Linked DNA regions of Homo sapiens: all the other regions are linked to region 1. The links are contacts of gene promoters, found by promoter capture Hi-C in blood cells and fetal thymus (Javierre and others, 2016). All regions are on one chromosome and are shown on one strand. Each heading gives the region's core, a stretch centred on a gene start or on the middle of the fragment in contact. The rest is flanking DNA. Distances are from core to core; before and after follow the strand shown. Region 1 holds the start of ARHGEF18-AS1 (ARHGEF18 antisense RNA 1). Region 2 overlaps LOC124904628 (a long non-coding RNA gene). Region 3 holds the start of CD209 (CD209 molecule).

Region 1 (4,468 bases), core at 821-3,320:
ATGAGCTATGATTGTGCCACTGCACTTCCAGCCTAAGTGACAGAGTGAGATCCTGTCTCAAAAAAAAAAAAAAAAAAAAAAAAAGGAAAAAAAATAAGGTTCATGCCCCTAAGTCCATAAGCCACAGCTACACAGCTGCCCAACCATTGAGCCCTCATAAACTCCCGTGTTAGAGTTTCTGACCTCAGCTGCAGTAGGGTGCCTGGTGAATTACGTCTTGCATTTCTGGGACATCCAATTCCCTGAACATGCTCCCTTCCTCTGGACCATGAAGGTTGGACTTGAACTGAAGGCTAGTCCACCTGGGGACGCAACCCTCCAGCTTCTGAACTGGGGACTCTCAACAACATATTGTGCATGTTTTGAAGTGATTGGGTTTGGGGAAATCTTTTTTTCTAAAATAGAGACTGGGTCATGCGAGGTTTCCCAGGCTGATCTCAAAGCTCCTGGACTCAAGTGATCCTCCCTCCTCAGACTCCCAAAGTGTTAGGATTACAGGCATGAGCCGTCTTGCCTGGCCATGGGGAGATCTTCTAGGCCTGGCTGACCAGCCAACCTTGGTGAGAGCTGTTCTGCTCGACTCCTGGTTACTGTTCAACTGCCTCCCCTGTGGCAGGACTTGGATTAGACAGGCAACCTCAAGACTGGGGTGTCTGATGGCAATTGAGAGGTTGCTGGTGCTGGGGGAAGCATCTGGCCTATCCACATCTGCCAAATAGCACCTGTGTGGAAGTGGATAGGGGAGGGTATGGTATGTGTTTCAGACTCTGAGCACCTGTTTGAGGGTATCTGACAGCATCTGTATTGGGGTTATCTAGTATGTGTTTGGGGGTATCTGCTGGACCTATGTGGAGTGTCTGACATATTTGGGGGTTACCTGGAAGCCTGTTTTGGGTATCTGATGGCACCTGCCTGGGTGCCTGTGTTTAGGGGATCTGATGGTATCTATGTTGGGGTGTCTGAGACCACTGGAGAGGTATATGATTCATTTTTCCCAGACCCACCTTTCTGAAGTCTATGCTGCCTCTTTTTTTGTTGTTGTTATTTTGAGACAGAGTCTTGCTCTGTTGTCCAGGCTGGAGTGCAGTGGCATGATTATAGCTCACTGCAGCCTGGACCTCCCAGGCTCAAGTCATCCTCCCACCTCAGCCTCTGGAGGCATGATCATAGCTCACCGCAGCCTGGACCTCCCAGGCTCAAGTCATCCTCCCACCTCAGCCTCTGGAGGAGTTGGGACCACAGGCAGGCGCCTCCATGCCCTGCTCATTTTAAAAAATGTTTTGTAGAGATGGGGTCTTGCTATGTTGCCCAGACTGGTGGTCCTGAACTCCTGGGATGAAGTGATCCCCCCACCACTCCCTGATGCTGCTTCTTTTTTCTCAGGTGACAGACCCTGCCCTCTCCATTTCTTGGACTCTCCCCGCTAGGACTCCCCACCACTGGGAGTGCCCCCCTTAGGTACTTCCAATCCTAACGAGCCCGTAGGAGCCCACTGACAACCCCTCCAGGCATCCGTTGATTCTTCCAAAACACCCCCAGCTCCACTGTCCTCCCTTGGGGTCCCCTTAACCCCGCTATCCTCCCTCGGGGTCCCCCAACTCCGCTGTCCTCCCTCGGGGTCCCCCCAACCCCGCTGTCCTCCCTTGGGGTCCCCCAACCCCGCTGTCCTCCCTCAGGGTCCCCCTAACTGTGCTGTACCCCCCTTGAGATTCTCCAAACCGCTGTCCTCCTCAGGACTCCCTCCCCAGCCGCGCTAATCACCCAGGCTTCCGTTAACCCCACAAAACGCCCACCTAACCCTGCTGCTCTCCCTCTGGATCCCCGCAACCCAGCTGTCCCCTCAGAGCCCCCGGCCCTACTGACAGCCAGGCTCGCATTGCTCTCCTTCAAAAAGCCCCCCAACCCCGCTGACCCGCCCCTCAAAAGTCGCCCTCACCCTCGCCGCGAGCACCCTCCCACTTCGGTGCCCGCGCCCCTCTCAAGGCCGAGCCGACGCCCCCTCACCACGGCTCGGGGAGCAGCAGCCCCAGGTCCCCGGGAGCGCCCCGCCCTCGAGGGCACGCCTCCTTCCGGGTCACGCCCTCTGCCCCGCCTCCGAGGCGGGATCGCGCATGCGCTGCTCTCCTCGCGCGGCTTCCCGCTTCCGGCTCCCAGCTGCTAGCTACTGTGGATCTGGGGGGGCCGGACGGAGGCATCGGAGGCGGCTGCGAGAGTGGCAGAGGAGCTGGCGGAGAGCGGCCTGCGGGCGATCGGGCCGAGGTGAGGACGGCGGCGGGGCGGTCCCGAGGAAAACGGGGCTCAGGAGGGGGCCCTCGGTCTCTTCAGGGGGTGGCCTGGGGCGCGGGACCCCCGGGGCTGCCTCGGGCCTCCCGCCGGCTCCTGGGGGACTTCTCCAGGCAGGCGAACGGGTGCTGGGGTGCAGGCTGCTCCTTCAATGCATGGAGGCTCTAGGCGGCGATTGCAGGGTGCAGAGGTGCAGACGATGCCCGCCCGCTCCGTCCGAGCCCCAGCCAGTCCTGGGGTGCTACGGCTTACTCTCCTCCAGGAGAGGAGAGGAGGGGTCACTTGGGCCCCAGCCTCTGCTCCTCGTTCAGGAGCGCCCGGGGCAGGACCAGGGATGGAATGGAACCCACCACAATACCCAGCACCGTCGTATTTCAGGCCTCCCGGGAGAACCCTCACACCCCGGAGCAGACAGCCCTCCCTGGCAGGGAGCGTTTGGGTGCAAAACCGTGAGAACTATCTGTGCCATGGGTTTTAGTTTCTTGTATAAGAACTCAGTTGGTGCTTTCATTGCGGACGGGAACGAGAAGCTTTCCCCTGGTCCTTACATGTTTCGTTTTGTTTTACGTTTTTAAATTTCAACTTTTATTTGAGATTGAGGGGGTACATGTACAGGTTTGTTACCTGGATATATTGCGTGATGCTGAGGTTTGGGGTGTGACTGATCTCGTCACCCAGGTACTGAGCATAGTACTCAATAGATAGTTTCAACCCTTGACCTCCTCCTTCCCTTCCCGCTCTAGTAGAGCCCAGTTTCTGTTGTCTTCTTGGTGTCCATGAGTACCCAAGGTTTAGCTCCACTTACAAGTGGGAAAGTGCAGTATTTGGTTTTCTTTTCCTGCGTTAATTCTACTAGCACTTGAGTGTTTTGCTGTGGCTATCTGCCCCTTATCTCTTGCTCTGTTGAGATTAAAGCCTGGACCACAGGATTAAAAAACATTCTTAAAGTTTTACCACGGAAGCGAAGCGGCCAACACACCTTTTCCCCTTTGCCTTGTTTTCGCGGAGATGAAGCTCCAGCCAGTAGCTTTGAAGGGCCCCATTCTCTTCCCATTGACCAGAGAGAGAGTTCAGGACAGTATAGACAGCCCAGTGGCCAAGGGATGAGTTTTGCAGGTGTCTGAGTGAATGATTAATCCTCCAGCTGTAAGAGGTGTCAGGAGAGGCTGGGCGCGGTGGCTCAAGCCTGTAATCCCAGCACTTTGGGAGGCCAAGGTGGGTGGATCACGAGGTCAGGAGATCGAGACCATCCTGGCCAACATGGTGAAACCCCATCTCTACTAAAATACAAAAATTAGCCGGGCATGGTAGCGGGCGCCTGTAGTTCCAGCTACTCTGGAGGCTGAGGCAGGGGAATCACTTGAACTCGGGAGGCAGAAGTTGCAGTGAGCCGCGATCGGGCCACTGCACTCCAGCCTGGCGACAGAGCAAGACTGTCTAAAAAAAAAAAAAAAGAAGTGTCAGGAGCACAGGCTTGAGGTCAGATCCGAGCTGGGTTCTGGTCCCAGTTCCACCACCTGTTAGCCGTGTAACTTCACTAAGTTTCCGTCTTCCCATCTTTAAAATGGGAATAAGGGTTGGTTGGGGTTTCTATGAAGTAATCTGTGTAAGGTGCATCACAGAAGTGTCTGGCATATGGCAAACTTTCCATCAGTGTTATACACCCTTTGCATATGCGAATGCTCCCAGGCTTGGATGTTTAGGTTAACATTCCAAATTATAAAGAGTTTGGAAAATTTGAGCATCTCGGATGTTGTTTGGACCGAGTCAGGGTTTACGCTTTATCAGTAGTTTCCTATTTCTGTAGGTCAGCAAGCCTTTTTGCGAAAAAAAAAAAAAAAAAAAAATGAAGATGTGTTTGTTCTAGAGCAAAAAAGAGCAAACAGCTGGCAGGCATAATACATTTCATTTTTGTAAACGTTACTTTGTTTTGGTTTTGTATAGCTTATTTAGTTTTTGTTTTCTTCTGAAATTAGTATGTGATTTTACTTAAAATTTTTTTTTTCTTTTTAGAGACAGGGTCTCACTCTGTTGCCCAGACTGGAGTGCAATAGCACAATCATAGCTCACTACAGCCTCGAACTCCTGGGCTCAAATAATCCTCCTGCCACAAACTCCCAAGTAGCTGGGACTACAGACACGCGCTTCCATGTCTGGCTAATTTTTAAAAATTTTTTGGGCCGGG
Region 2 (4,468 bases), core at 589-3,088, 410 kb after region 1:
CCCAGGGGCTCAAGCTCAGCCTGGGCAACATAGTGAGACCCTGTCACTATAAAAATAGTTTTTTTTGAGGTGGAGTCTCGCTCTGTCGCCCAGGCTGGAGTGCAATGGCGTGATCTCGGCTTACTGCAACCTCTGCCTCCTGGGTTCAAGCGATTCTCCTGCCTCAGCCTCTTGAGTAGCTGGGATTACAGGCACACCCCACCACACCTGGCTAATTTTTGTATTTTTAGTAGAGACAGGGTTTCACCATGTTGGTCAGGCTGGTTTCGAACTCCTGACCTCAGGTGATCCACCTGTCTCAGCCTCCCAAAGTGCTGGGATTACAGGCATGAGCCACTGTGCCAGGCCTGTTAAATGACTTTTCTAAACTACTTCTGTAAAGTCTATATTCTCTGTCATGGCTACTGAAGTCTTTGCTCAGTTAGCTTCATGGTTAGCTAGTGGTTGGACAGAGATTTCCTTGAATGTCTGGAATCGGAAGTCTGCCAGTCTTTGCCAGGGAGCTCTGTGTACTTATTAGGGACACACCTTCAACATTCACCCAGGAAATTTACAACTGTGCTTTAGCTCTCACTTCCTGCTTACACAGAGCCTCGAAGTCGGCCAGCGGTGTGAGCTTAGGGCTGTCTCAGGTCTTTCCTAAGCATGTGGCCTTCCATATCCCCAGAAATATGTCAGAATTTTTCAAAAGTCCCTCCGAACATCTAATGTCTTCATTTTTCCTTCTAAGATTTTTTTTTTTTTTTTTTTTGAGACGGAGTCTCGCTCTGTGGCTCAGGCTGGAGTGCAGTGGCGCGATCTCGGCTCACTGCCAGCTCCGCCTCCTGGGTTCACACCATTCTCCTGGCTTGGACTACAGGCGCCCGCCACCACACCCGGCTAATTTTTTGTATTTTCAGTAGAGACGGGGTTTCACCGTGTTAGCCAGGATGGTCTCGATCTCCTGACCTCAAGTGATCCTCCCGCCTCGACCTCCCAAAGTGCTGGGATTACAGGCGTGAACCACCGCGCCTGGCGCTTTTCCTTCTAAGATTTTTAGTTAGGCTATTATTTCCCCAACTGTTAAGTATTGCCACAGGCAGCTGCAATGTTAAAACATTTAACAAATAGCCCCTGGGGAGAAATGTTTAGCATCCGGCAAGTTCAAGTGAGGTCAGGTCTTTCAGAGCAGGGTCTTCCAGAGTACCAATAAATAGGTCAATAAATGACTCTTCTTGGCTGGGTGCGGCGGCTCACGCTTGTAATCCCGGCACTTTGGGAGGCCGAGGTGGGTGGATCACTTGAGGTAAGCAGTTTGAGACTAGCCTGGTCAACATGGTGAAACCCTGTCCCTGCTGAAAACACAAAAATGAGTCAGGCATGGTGGCGGGCACCTGTAATCGCAGCTACTCCGGAGGCTGAGGCAGGAGAATCGCTTGAACCCAGGAGAAGGAGGTTGCAGTGAGCCGAGATCACGCCACTGCACTCCAGCCTGGGCGACAGAGCGAGACTCTGTCTCAAACACACACACACACACACACACACACACACACACACACACACACACACACCTCTTCTTGAATGATCCTGAATGAGGTTTTGAAGGAGCCGCACCTCTGTTCTTTTCCGTATGGTATCAAGATTGTGGGCTGTTATTTTTCAAGGCTACCCTCTGAGCTGGAGAGCCAGGAATAAGACTAGAGTGAGTTAAAATTCTACAGAGCTTGCTGTTTTTTTATGTGTTTTTTTTTTTAATTAAATGCTCTGCAAATTACTGTAAGCTTTTGGTTAATTTCCAGAGTTGTGAAAATGTTGATTCTGTCAAATTTTGCCAGTTTTTTTCATTGCTTTTGTAGAAAGGCAAATTTTACTCTGCCATTTTGCTGACGTTCTTTTTTTTCCCCTTCGATGCTTAAATTATCTTTAATTTGGCCAGTGAAAGCTTTTCTCTCTGGCTTCTGGGTCCTTTTGACATATTCCTATTGGTTTTTTGCTGATCGTTTTTTCTTCCTTCCTGGCCTAACTAGATGTTCTAGGCTTTTGTCCCCCCCAACCCTGCCTCAGCCTCCCAAGTAACTAGGACTACAGGAGCACGCCACCACGCCTGGCTAATTTTTAAATTTTTTGTAGAAATGGGTCTTGCTATGTTGCCCAGGCTGCTCTCATTTTTCCAAAAAGCCCTGGGCTAGGTGGAGATTGGCAGTTAGAAATGATCTGGGTGTTAAGTGTGCCCATTGTTACTGGGGTATGTGGCTCCCAGGTCCTCTTAGTAGATAAATGGGAACACACACACACACACACACACACACACACACACACAAACTTATTTCTATATTTATCTTTATATTTTGAAAACCATGAATTCACCTCAGTACCTCCAATTCAATAGGGTTTATTCTTGTTTTTTTTTGTATCTTTTCTTTTTTTTTTTTCTTGAGACCGAGTCTCGCTTTGTCACCTGGGCTGGAGTGCAGTGGCGCAATCTTTGGCAGTCTCAGCTCACTGCAGCCTCAACCTGCTGGGCTTGAGGGATTCTCCTGCCTCAGGCTCCTGAGCAGCTGGGACCACAGGCTCACGGCACCACACCCAGCTAATTTTTTGTCTGTAAAGACAGGGTCTCACTATGTTTCCTGGGCTGGTCTGGAACTCCTGGACTCAAGCGATCCTCCCACCTTGGCCTCCCAACGTGCTGGGATTACAGTGGCCGGGTGCAGCGGCTCACGCCTGTAATCCCAGCACATTGGGAGGCCGAGGCAGGTGGATCACCCGAGGTCAGGAGTTCGAGACCAGCCTGGCCAACATGGCAAAATCCCATCTCTACTAAAAATACAAAAATTAGCCGGGCTTGGTGGCGGGAGCCCGTAATCCCAGCTACTTGGGAGCCTGAGGCAGCAGAATCGCTTGAACCTGGGAGGTGGAGTTTGCAGTGAGCCGAGATCTTGCCACTGCACCCAGCCTGGGTGACAGAGCAAGACTCTGTCTCAAAACAAAACAAACAGAAAAACAAAGTGCTGGGATCACAGGCATAAGCCACCACACCTGGCCTCTGCATCTCATGAGCATTTATTTTGTGCTATGTGTTTTTTGGATATGACCTCAAAGAATCCGGTAACACAGCCGCCCTCATTCTCATTTTACCTATGAGCATAGTGGCTCAGAGATGAGTCACCTGCCCACAGCCCATCAGCTGATAAACACTGGAGTTGGGTTTGAAACTGTGAAAGCAATGAGGACCACATCATTTTCACTTCCCTTCGTGGCCCCAACTCAAACCAACCCAAAACCCAAGAAAGAAGATGTGGAGATTGTGTTGCCTTTCATAACTGGGAAGCGCGGGTGAGTGGAGGGGACCAGATTCAGGATCTGCTTTTCTTTCTTTCTTTTTTTTTTTTTTTTTTTTTGAGACGGAGTCTTGCTCTATCGCCCAGTGGAGTGCAGTAGCGCGATCTCGGCTCACTGCAACCTCCACCTCCCGGGTTCACACCATTCTCCTGCCTCAGCCTCCCGAGTAGCTGGGGCTACAGGTGCCTGCCACCACGCCCGGCTGATTTTAGCATCTGCCTTTCTTTATCTGTCTATGATCTGTTTGCTCCAGAATGTAACCTTCTAGACCAAAGGTTGGCAAACATTTGAAAAGGGCCAAATAGTAAATATTTTTGGGCCTCGAGGGCTCTCTGCTGCAACTCTGCTATTCTAGCACAAATGCGTCACATACAATACATAAATGCATGGGCAGAAAACAATTTGTTAGCCGGGCACAGTGGCTCACGTCTGTAATCCCAGCACTTTGGGAGGCCAAAACAGATTAGGGTTTTCCAAGGCTGCAGGAAGGCAGGAATGTGGAGTGACTGCTTAGTAAGTATGGGGGGCTGGGCATGGTGGCTCACGTCTGTAATCCCAGTACCTTGGGAGGCCAGGGGAGGAAGATTACTTGAGGCCAGGAGTCTGAGACCAGCCTAGGCAACATAGCAAGGCCCCATCTCTACAAAACATTTGAAAATTAGCTGACCACGGTGGCACATGCCCACGTCCCCAGCTACTCAGGAGGCAGAGGTGGGAAGATTGCTTGAGCCCAGGAGGCTGAGGCTGCACTCAACCATGATTGTGCCACTGCAGTCACCCTGGGTGACAGAAGAAGACCCTCTCTCAACAAAAACAAAAATAAATAAATAGGCCGGGCGCAGTGGCTCATGCCTGTAATCCCAGCACTTTGGGAGGCCGAGGCGGGTGGATCATGAGGTCAGGAGATCAAGACCTTCCTGGCTAACACGGTGAAACCCCGTCTCTACCAAAAATACAAAAAATTAGCCAGGCATGGTGGCAGGCACCTGTAGTCCCAGCTACTCAGGAGGCTGAGGCAGGAGAATGGCATGAACCCGGGAGGCGGAGCTTGCAGTGAGCCGAGATTGCACCACTGCCCTCCAGCCTGGGCGACAGAGTGAGACTCCGTCTCAAAATAAATAAATAAATAAATAAATAAATAAATAAA
Region 3 (4,468 bases), core at 678-3,177, 350 kb after region 1:
GTCAGCTCCTGGTAGATCTCCTGCTGCTTAGATTTCTCTGGAAGCTCACCCACTGCAGCCTTCAGCCGGGTCAGCTCCTGGTAGATCTCCTGCTGCTTAGATTTCTCTGGAAGCTCACCCACTGCAGCCTTCAGCCGAGTCAGCTCCTGGTAGATCTCCTGCATCTTAGATTTCTCTGGAAGCTCACCCACTGCAGCCTTCAGCCAGGTCAGCTCCTGGTAGATCTCCTGCAGCTTAGATTTCTCTGGAAGCTCACCCACTGCAGCCTTCAGCCGGGTCAGCTCCTGGTAGATCTCCTGCAGCTTAGATTTCTCTGGAAGCTCACCCACTGCAGCCTTCAGCTGGGTCAGCTCCTGGTAGATCTCCTGCAGCTTGGATTTCTCTGAGAGCTCACCCACTGCAGCTTTAAGCTGGGTCAGGTTCTGGTAGATCGCGTCTTGCCTGGATTGTTCCTGACTTATGGAGCTGGGGACCTTGGACACTGGGCCAAGAAAAAAAAGGAACTGCAATTATTAAACACCTACTGTGTGCCAAGCCTTGAACTGAGCCCCATAGGGACATCATTTGTGAGAGCCAAGGTCTTGGTTAATCCCCTTTGAAGATGAAGAAAACTGACACCTGGAGAAGGCAGCACAGAAGGCCAAGGAGAGCCAGATTCTTCCTGTCCTCCTCCTCCTCCCTCTCCTGTCCTGCCCTAGAGTGGGGAGGGGCTGTGGGAGAGGCCCCTACAGACCCCCAGGGACAACATCTTGGCTCTCAGTCCCACCTCCCTCCCAGATCTGGCAGCCCCAGGCTGTGTCCACAGCCAAAAGCCAGGCGTGGGGACCCCAGACCCTCAGAACCTGCCCCTGACCTTGGACAAGGAGCCCAGCCAAGAGCGTGAAGGAGAGGAGTTGCAGCACCAGGGGACCATGGCCAAGACACCCTGAGAGAGGATACATGCGTCAGCCTGCCAGTGTCCCCACCGGAGCCTGGCCCAGGGAGAGCCTGGTCTAAATCCCTCAGCACCCCAGGACCCAGGAACCCCAGCCCCAGCCCCCTCCACTCCAACACCTGGGAATCCAGGCCCTAGCTCTAACCTCCCCAGGACCCAGGGACCCCGTCCCCAGCCTCCCCTTCCCCAGGTCCCAGGAACCAGGTACCTGCTTCCACCTCCCCAGGACCCAGGAATCCAGGCCCCAGCCTCTACATTCCCAGGTCCCTGGAACCCAGGCCCCCAGCTCCCACCTCCCCAGGACCCAGGGACCCAGGACCCAGCCTCCCCTTCCCCAGGTCCCAGTAACCCAGGTACCTGCTCCCACCTCCCCAAGACCCAAGAATCTGGGTCCCAGCCCCTACATCCCCAGGTCCCAGGAACCCAGGCCCAAGTCCCCACCTCCCCATGACCCAGGAGTCCAGGCCCAGGCCCCCACCTCTCCAGGACCCAGGAGTCTAGGCCCCTGACCCCACCTCCCCAGGACCCAGGAACCCAGGCTTCAACTTCTACCTCCCCAGAACCCAGGAGTCTTGGCCCCAGCCTCCACCTTCCCAGGAACCAGGAATTCAGGCCCCAAACTCAACCTCCTCAGGTCCCAGGAGTCCAGGCCCCTAGCCCCACATCCCCAGGACCCAAGAGTCCAGGCCCCAGCGTCCAGCTCCTCAGGACCCAGGAGTCCAGGAGTCTCTCGTCTCTCCTCCCAAACTGCTAAGTCCTCTCTACCTGCTAAGCTCTTGTATCCTCGAGTCTGTCGGAATCCAAGGCCTCTCAGCTGTTCCTCCTCTGAATGGATAGACGTGAAATCAGAGCCTGGGCAGGCTGAGGCCATGGCTGGCCATCCCTTCCCCCTTCCCAGAATCCCAGCGTCCCAACCCAGCCTCACCCAGGAGGCCCAGCTGCTGCAGTCTTGGTTCCTTGGAGTCACTCATGTCACCCCACTCTCCCCCAGTGTCCAGAACTCCTGGGGGCCACAGCTTTTATTTCCCACCCTGTGATCTTTACTTCCTAAATCTAGTCTCCCACAGAAAGAGAAACAGGAAGTTGGGTAGGGATCTGTCATCCAAAAGACTAGTGGAAAGCATCAGAGCATGAGATGGGCCGGATCTTTCAAGAATTTCAGGGAGGCAGTGGGGGATGGTCTGGGGTTGACAGGGAGAAGGACTCATCCACTCATGGATGGCTGAGCAGTGGGATGCTTTTAATGAAATCTGATAAATTGTAAGAGAAAGCTACTGTGTTACACCCCCTCCACTAGGGCAAGGGTAGGCAGGTAGCACCCCCAGTTCCTGGAAGCACTGTCCCCTGTGACCTCCTGGCTTTCCTGCTTTGAGCTGCTGCTGTCCTCATTTTTGGGAATTCCTGCTGACTTTGGGAGTTGGGGCAGAATCATAATTGCTTGTTTATTTAATGCCTAGGGTAGTCAGGTACTTTTCCAACAGCTTTATAAACTCATTCATTTAATGTTCCTACCCTTCAGTAGATCATATGACCTCCATTATACAGATGAGGAAACTGAGGAGGCACTGCAAGTTTAGCTAACTGGCCCAAGGTCACACAGCTGGTAGATGGTGGGGCTGAGACTTGAACCCAGTCTGCCTCCACAGTGCATGCTGTTAACCAAAGAGTGAAATAGTATCAAAGAGGAAAGAAAAGATCCATAGCAGCTTTATTTAGAATGATCTGAAATTGGAACAACCCCGTGTCCACCAGCAGGTGAATGATAAAAAATATAATGGCATATTCAAAGATTGGAATACTATACAGCAATGAAAAAGCAAAGTACTAGTACATTTAATAACATAGATAAATCTCACAAAACAGTAAAAGGACCCAGACAGAGTGAGTACACACTGTAAGATTTGATTTTGTGTGAATTTTGAGAACAGGCAGAACTAACCTTTGAAGGAGACTCAGAATGGGAATTATCAGGAAGGAGCAGGTGGAGATTGACAACGGGGTTTCTGTATGCTGGAAATGTTCTATATTTTGATCATAGAGATGTGCATTTACCACATGTGTGTTAAATCTCAGTTTAAAGATGGAAAATACATACATGTATCATAATCAAATAGTGGTTTTCGACCTGATCTTTACTTTGTATTCTTTTTTAAAATGTTTTAATTTTAGAATAATTTTGGGTTTATAGCAAAGTTGCAAATGTAGGAAAGAGATTTCCCATATGTAAATCCCTCACCTAGGGATCCCTAATGTGAACCCAGTTTCTCCTAATGGTAACATTTCACATGGTAATGAGGTAGGAAACTGGAAGAACTTGTTTTCTGGCCACAACCCTGCAGACCCATACAGAATCTGGTCCAGATGAGATGATGTGAAGAAACCAGCAGGAACCAGCAGATGGCAACAAAAGCAATCCCTGGCTGCCTCATTGCTCGTGGGCATAAGATACTCCCTCCAGTGCCATGACTGTTTACCGATGCCATGGCAATGACCTAGAAGTTCCCACCTGTTTCCATGGAAACAACCTGGACATCTTCGCCCTTTTCCTTAAAACTTCTAAAGAACCTGCTCCTCAATTTGCATTGACCCACCCCTTAACTGACGTATAACTGAAAGTGAGTTGACATGAGTATAACTACAGCTGCCAAGAGCTTGTATGTTGTTGACTCTGGGTGCACTGCCTATGAGTTAGCCCTGCTTCACAAGGAGCAGTATCATTACATAAAAAATATCTGTCTAAGGCCAGGTATGGTGGCTCACGCCTGTAATCCTAACACTTTGGGAGGCTGAGGTGGGCGGATCACAGGGTCAGGAGTTCGAGACCCTCCTGGCTACATGGTGAAACCCCATCTCTTTTAAAAATACAAAAAAAATTAGCCAGGCATGGCACGTGTCTGTAGTCCCAACTACTCAGGGGGCTGAGGCGGAAGAATTGCTTGAACCTGGGAGGCAGAGGTTGCAGTGAGCTGAGACTGTGACAATGCACTCCAGCTTGGGCGAGAGAGTGAGACTCCATCTCAAAAACAAACAAACAAAACCGGTGGCTCACGCCTGTAATCCCAGCACTTTGGGAGGCTGAGGCGGGCAGATCACCTGAGGTCAGGAGTTCGAGACCAGCCTGAGCAACATGGTAAAACCCTGTCTCTACTAAAAATACAAAATTAGCCAGGCATGGTGGCTGATGCCTGTAATCCCAGCTACTCGGGAGGCTGAGGCAGGAGAATCACTTGAACCTGGAAGGCAGAGGTTGCAGTGAGCCGAGACTGCAATACTGCACTCCAGCCTGGGCGACAGAGTGAGACTCCATGTCAAAAACAAACAAACAAACAAACAAAAGGTGGCTCACGCTTGTAATCCCAGCACTTTGGGAGGCCAAGGCAGGCAGATCACCTGAGGTTGGGAGTTCAAGACCAGTCTGACCAACATGGAGAAACCCTGTCTCTACTAAAAATACAAAATTAGCCAGGCATGGTGGCTGATGCCCATAATCCCAGCTACTCAGGAGGCTGAGGCAGGAGAATCGCTTGAACCTGG

The links. Contacts are between HindIII fragments. The CHiCAGO score rates a contact against its expected background, and 5 or more counts as called.
Region 2: a contact is called between a fragment that was not itself captured here and the fragment with the promoter of ARHGEF18-AS1 in region 1, in 2 of 17 cell types (megakaryocytes and M2 macrophages). The highest score is 6.8, in megakaryocytes.
Region 3: a contact is called between the fragment with the promoter of CD209 here and the fragment with the promoter of ARHGEF18-AS1 in region 1, in 1 of 17 cell types (M1 macrophages). The highest score is 5.0, in M1 macrophages.

The regions. Positions count from the first base shown.
Region 1 is chr19:7,392,989-7,397,456 of GRCh38, forward strand. It overlaps ARHGEF18-AS1 (ARHGEF18 antisense RNA 1), which reads right to left and starts at 2,071. Exons shown (of 2, transcript NR_186326.1): 1 at 2,005-2,071. The region is part of intron 10 of ARHGEF18 (Rho/Rac guanine nucleotide exchange factor 18); the gene reads left to right. RefSeq lists silencers at 1,830-2,270, 1,979-2,548 and an enhancer at 2,759-2,938. The HindIII fragment of the contact is 12,223 bases long and covers 1-2,811 here.
Region 2 is chr19:7,804,571-7,809,038 of GRCh38, forward strand. The region is part of intron 1 of LOC124904628 (a long non-coding RNA gene); the gene reads left to right. Among named protein-coding and RNA genes, the nearest start is that of EVI5L, 23 kb to the right of the region's middle. The HindIII fragment of the contact is 161 bases long and covers 1,759-1,919 here.
Region 3 is chr19:7,745,607-7,750,074 of GRCh38, forward strand. CD209 (CD209 molecule) reads right to left here and starts at 1,928. Exons shown (of 7, transcript NM_021155.4): 1 at 1,860-1,928; 2 at 1,700-1,759; 3 at 854-925; 4 at 1-481. The coding sequence starts at 1,905. RefSeq lists promoters at 1,806-3,233, 1,878-2,946, 1,905-2,142, 1,906-3,013, 1,906-2,412 and 7 more, cis regulatory regions at 1,960-1,965, 1,979-1,984, 2,002-2,007, 2,008-2,018, 2,013 and 8 more, an enhancer at 2,996-3,497 and a silencer at 3,277-3,571. The HindIII fragment of the contact is 13,171 bases long and covers 1-4,468 here.